Regions from separate parts of the Homo sapiens genome. Here region 2 is linked to region 1. Evidence: promoter capture Hi-C in 16 types of primary human blood cells and fetal thymus (Javierre and others, 2016). All regions are on one chromosome and are shown on one strand. The core of a region is centred on a gene start or on the middle of the fragment in contact, and the rest is flanking DNA. Distances in the headings are between cores, read along the strand shown.

Evidence for each region. Contacts are between HindIII fragments. The CHiCAGO score rates a contact against its expected background, and 5 or more counts as called.
Region 2: a fragment that was not itself captured here is called in contact with the fragment with the promoter of CKM in region 1 in 4 of 17 cell types (M1 macrophages, M2 macrophages, megakaryocytes and 1 more); the score reaches 6.9 in M1 macrophages.

The regions. Positions count from the first base shown.
Region 1 is chr19:45,321,610-45,324,309 of GRCh38, reverse strand. It overlaps CKM (creatine kinase, M-type), which reads left to right and starts at 1,435. Exons shown (of 8, transcript NM_001824.5): 1 at 1,435-1,489. RefSeq lists an enhancer at 469-711. The HindIII fragment of the contact is 13,711 bases long and covers 1-2,700 here.
Region 2 is chr19:45,231,538-45,234,292 of GRCh38, reverse strand. EXOC3L2 (exocyst complex component 3 like 2) reads left to right here. Exons shown (of 12, transcript NM_001382422.1): 3 at 1-100; 4 at 2,419-2,530. It also overlaps the pseudogene LOC100420902. Among named protein-coding and RNA genes, the nearest start is that of EXOC3L2, 12 kb to the left of the region's middle. The HindIII fragment of the contact is 926 bases long and covers 973-1,898 here.

The DNA.
Region 1 (2,700 bases), core at 186-2,685:
CATTTGGTTTTCTGGGCCTCAGTTTCCGTAACCGTGAAGGAGACCCTCGGCAATCTGAGCTTGCTGGGAAAGGGCTGGGCCCCATGTAAATATTTCTAAAGCACCCCTCTCCCCTCCCCCCTCAGATCAGGAGTCTGAGGGAGAGGCACAGAGGCTCCCTTTCTCTAAGCCAGTCCTCACCTGCCTAAGAAGATGTGAAGGAGACCCAGGAGACCCTGGGATAGGGAGGAACTCAGAGGGAAGGGACATTCTTTTCTTCGTCGCAATCCTGGGAGCTCCCTGGAGGAGGAGACCCGATCAGCCTGCAATCCTGGCGCGTCCCAGGAGGAGAAAGCGGCTTCCTCTATACTGTACTCTCCTCCACAGAACCCCCCTCTCAGCCCTGGAAGTCCTTGCTCACAGCCGAGGCGCCGAGAGCGCTTGCTCTGCCCAGATCTGCGCGAGTCTGGCGCCCGCGCTCTGAACGGCGTCGCTGCCCAGCCCCCTTCCCCGGGAGGTGGGAGCGGCCACCCAGGGCCCCGTGGCTGCCCTTGTAAGGAGGCGAGGCCCGAGGACACCCGAGACGCCCGGTTATAATTAACCAGGACACGTGGCGAACCCCCCTCCAACACCTGCCCCCGAACCCCCCCATACCCAGCGCCTCGGGTCTCGGCCTTTGCGGCAGAGGAGACAGCAAAGCGCCCTCTAAAAATAACTCCTTTCCCGGCGACCGAGACCCTCCCTGTCCCCCGCACAGCGGAAATCTCCCAGTGGCACCGAGGGGGCGAGGGTTAAGTGGGGGGGAGGGTGACCACCGCCTCCCACCCTTGCCCTGAGTTTGAATCTCTCCAACTCAGCCAGCCTCAGTTTCCCCTCCACTCAGTCCCTAGGAGGAAGGGGCGCCCAAGCGCGGGTTTCTGGGGTTAGACTGCCCTCCATTGCAATTGGTCCTTCTCCCGGCCTCTGCTTCCTCCAGCTCACAGGGTATCTGCTCCTCCTGGAGCCACACCTTGGTTCCCCGAGGTGCCGCTGGGACTCGGGTAGGGGTGAGGGCCCAGGGGGCACAGGGGGAGCCGAGGGCCACAGGAAGGGCTGGTGGCTGAAGGAGACTCAGGGGCCAGGGGACGGTGGCTTCTACGTGCTTGGGACGTTCCCAGCCACCGTCCCATGTTCCCGGCGGGGGGCCAGCTGTCCCCACCGCCAGCCCAACTCAGCACTTGGTCAGGGTATCAGCTTGGTGGGGGGGCGTGAGCCCAGCCCCTGGGGCGGCTCAGCCCATACAAGGCCATGGGGCTGGGCGCAAAGCATGCCTGGGTTCAGGGTGGGTATGGTGCGGGAGCAGGGAGGTGAGAGGCTCAGCTGCCCTCCAGAACTCCTCCCTGGGGACAACCCCTCCCAGCCAATAGCACAGCCTAGGTCCCCCTATATAAGGCCACGGCTGCTGGCCCTTCCTTTGGGTCAGTGTCACCTCCAGGATACAGACAGCCCCCCTTCAGCCCAGCCCAGCCAGGTACTGCACGGGGCGGGAATCTGGGTGGGGGCCAGAGTAGGGGATTTCTGTGGGTGCTAGAGGCTTGGCTTGGGAAAGGGTCTGTGTGTCACCCCTTGCTCCACCAACATCCTCCTATACAAAGGCAGGTCGGTGCGTGGGAAGGTTGACCCTTGTGTGTCTGGGAGGCCCCTCCATCTGTGAGGCTGCCTGAACCCCCCACTGGGACCTGTGATTTCTGCGGCACAAGTCTTGGGTTATGGGGAGGGATCCGAGATGAAAGGGGTCCTGACAGCTGCCAACTGTCACCCCCTGCAAGGGGCTGTTGAGCCAGGCCTGTGTTCATTACAGTTTGTCGCCAACACTGGCGCCACAAGCCGTGGGAGGTGTGTCTGTCGCCTAGCAGAGTCTGCAAGAGCAGGTGTCGCAGGCTTTCTTTGCGTTTGCTACTGTGTGGGTCCCTGTGACCTTGTTTCTGACTTAGTAGCGGACACATGAGTGTCCTGGGCATGTCCTTGAGTTTGGAAGTGTGACTGTGTGACTTAGTTTACAGTGTGATCTGGGGAGTCTGCGGTGGTGGGGGTGTGTGGCTCTGGGGCTTTCTGCTTATGTCTCTTGTGGGGGGGGTCACCACCCTGCCTCAGTGCCCTCTCCTGGGGTGTCCCTGGCAGGGATTAGGGGGGCATCCTCTGAAGGGAGGGGGTCTGGGCTGCCATCCCAGGATGTCCTTGAGCCCCGAGGCCTGGACCCGTGTCCTCCCAGCCACCCTGGCCCACCTGTCTTGGGCCTGCTGACTTGGTGCAAGCCGAGCCCCGGAATGTGGGGGTGGGGCGGGGCAGCAGCTGGGGGTGGGATGGCAGGCAGTTGCCAGATTCTAAAAATAACCACCCTGGACAGCAGCACCCAAGGTCTTTGGCGGGTCCCTGTTCCTCTTCCCTGGCTTCAGCTCACCGTGGTCCCAATCTCCCTCCCACAATCCCACCTGCTTCCCATCCCCGTCTCCCACCGCTGCTGGAGGCCCCTTCTCCTTTCTGGGTCCCTTCTCCTTTCTGGGTCCAGTGAATAAAATAATAATAACAGTAGGACCTGGCGCAGTGGCTCACACGCATAATCCCAGCATCTTGGGAGGCCGATGCTGGAGGATCACTTGAGGCCAGGAGTCCCAGACCAGCCTGGGCAACATAGTGAGACCCCATCTCTGCAAAAAAGTAGTAATAACAAATAACAATAAT
Region 2 (2,755 bases), core at 186-2,685, 90 kb after region 1:
ACGGGGCCCTGGCCGAGTGGCTGGGGGCCTCCGCCCGTCGCAGGCTGCCGCTGGCCGACCGCTACGCGCTGCTGCACTGGCACAATCAGGTCTACCCCAGGTAAGCTGGACTCAGTTGCCCAAGGTCACGTGAAACCCTCAGCCCTACCCCCTAGCACTGGCTTCTTCAGACCTTAAGGACCTTGGGACAGCTGACCCTACAGTCCTAGCACTTTAACACCATTAACCCATCCAGTCGTCAGCACCGCTGACAGTTACAATCCTAGACTCTCACTGCTACCGAGGCTTCCGGTTCCAGCACCTTAGTACCATGGACGCTTGCAGTCCTAGAATAAGAGCTCCGGCACCACTGTGGTCCAAAAACCTCAGCGCTCTGTCAACACTTACACTCTAGATCGCCTCGCTGTCCACCCTTCCAGTCCCCGAATCTTAGCACCATTGATTCCTCTAGTCCTAGAACCTTTGCGTTGCTACTTTTCCGTTCCTAAAATCTCAACACCATTCATTCTTCTAGACCTACATACAACCTTAGCATCATCGACAGTTACACTCCTAGCATCTAAGTAACACTGATGCTTCCAGTCTTAGAATCCTAGCATTCCCACCCTTTCAGACCTAGAACCTATTGGCACCATTGACTCTTCCAGTTCTACAATTTTAGCACTATCGACAGTTTCAATCCTAGTAGCTCAGCACGGTGGGCCCACCAGTCCAAGAACCTGGGCTTCATGACACTTACGCTACTAGAATCTTAGCTGTTCACCCTTCCAGTCTTAGAGTTTTAGCACTGTTGACCATTCCTTCCTAGAACCATAGCCCCACTGACCCTTCACCTTAATACAATGACACTTAGAATTCTAGAATCCTACACTGCTTTCTCTTTAGAGCCTAGGGCATTAGTACTGTTGACGTTTCCAATCTTAGAACTTAGAATGTATGGTGCAACCATAGAAGCTTAGTACCAATGAAGCTTTGAATCCTAAACCTTAGCCTCATTCCCTCTTTTGGTCTTAGAACCTCAACACTGTTGATCCTTCTAGTTTTAGGACGTTATTTATTTATTTATTTATTTATTTTGAGACGGAGTCTTGCTCTGTCGCCCAAGCTGGAGTGCAGTGCTGCAATCTCTGCCAACTGCAACCTCCGCCTCCCGGGTTCAAGTGATTCTCCTGCCTCAGCCTCCCGAGTAGCTGGGATTACAGGCGCCCACCATCATGCACAGCTAATTTCTGTATTTTTAGTAGAGACGGGGTTTCACCATGTTGGCCAGGCTGGTCTTGAACTCCTAACCTCAGGTGATCCACTTGCCTCGAACTCCCAAAGTGTTGGGATTACACGCATGAGCCACTGTGCCCGGCCTAATTTTTTTGTATTTTTAGTAGAGGCGGGGTTTTACCATGTTGGCCAGGCTGGTGTCGAACTCCTGACCTCAAGTGATCCACCCACCTTGGCCTCCCAAAGTGCTTCGATTACAGGTGTGAGCCACCATGCCCGGGCCAGTTTTAGGACTTGAGTGCTGTTTGCCCCTTGAATTCTATAAGGGTAGCACCCAGAACCTCAGTACCATGGTCCCTCTCAGTCCTAGAATCTTATTACTGTTGAGACTTTGTGTCCTAAAACATACCCATTCTTGTGGCCGGGGGATGGACTATGGTGATTAGCCACCTCCAGGTCACCTGTCTACCCCAGAGAAAAGGGAGTTAGCCACATCCAAGCCACACGTTGGACAGTGAAGGGGGTGGGTGGTTCTTCCAACAAAATCAGGATGCTGTCACCGGAAGACTGGGAAGGCAACAGATACCCACATTGACCACATAGATCTCATTTGGGAATGTATGTCAATAATGCTCTCATGTTATCTATAAGGGATGGAGGCAGGATAGGGAGTCCGGAAAGCTTCCTAAAGTGGTGGGAACTGGGTTTGGTCCAATTTGTAGGGCAATGGTGTTTATAATTGAGAGGATGCCATGAGCCCAAGTCTGGGGTGTTTGGGGGTGGATATTGATGATATCACATAGCTCCAGGCATGTAAGCTCGTAGAAGGTGGGGAGAGAGGGCTGGACTGGGGAAGCCTCCAAGGCCAGGTAAGGCAGCAGGGCCTCAGAGCATAGGTGCAAAGGGAACTTCTGTCTGGTGAAATGGATCATGGGTGAAGCCTTGCATGTCAGATCTTCAAGCCTGGACTTGACCCCTAAATATCATGCCGGGACACCATCCATCAGGGAGCTGACTCAGAGAGCTGGAGCCGGGGAAGCAACAATTCCAAAGACTTCCTCTGAGGGATGAGCAGAGATGACTTAGAGAGAGGAAGGGAGTGGCCCAGGGTCACAGAAACAGTGGGTAGGAGGGTGTGGGGAAGGTTCCAACTGCCCAGCCCCACTTTTCACAGACCTCCTTTTCTCTCACCCCCATCCCCAGAGAGGTCCTAGGGCTGGTGGACATGGCCGCCCTGGAGAATGGGGAGCTGGGGCCCCTTCTCTCCCCTGGCACCCTGCGGGGTTTGGAGGATGAATGCGTCACAGATGTTAAGGTACCTGGAACTTTGCATTTTGGAAGCAGGAGGTGCTGTGGAGGGAGGGGGTCACAGTGGGCTTGGGAAGCCTGTCCCCTCCACCTTTCACTCTTTCCAACTCCCTTTTCCCTTTACGAACTTCTGAGTTCTATCCATGTGCCATAGACACAAAGGCCGCTGTACAGAGACACTTGGTAAAGGTTCAGTATATCTGGACACTTCAAACCTTAGAGTACAAGAAAG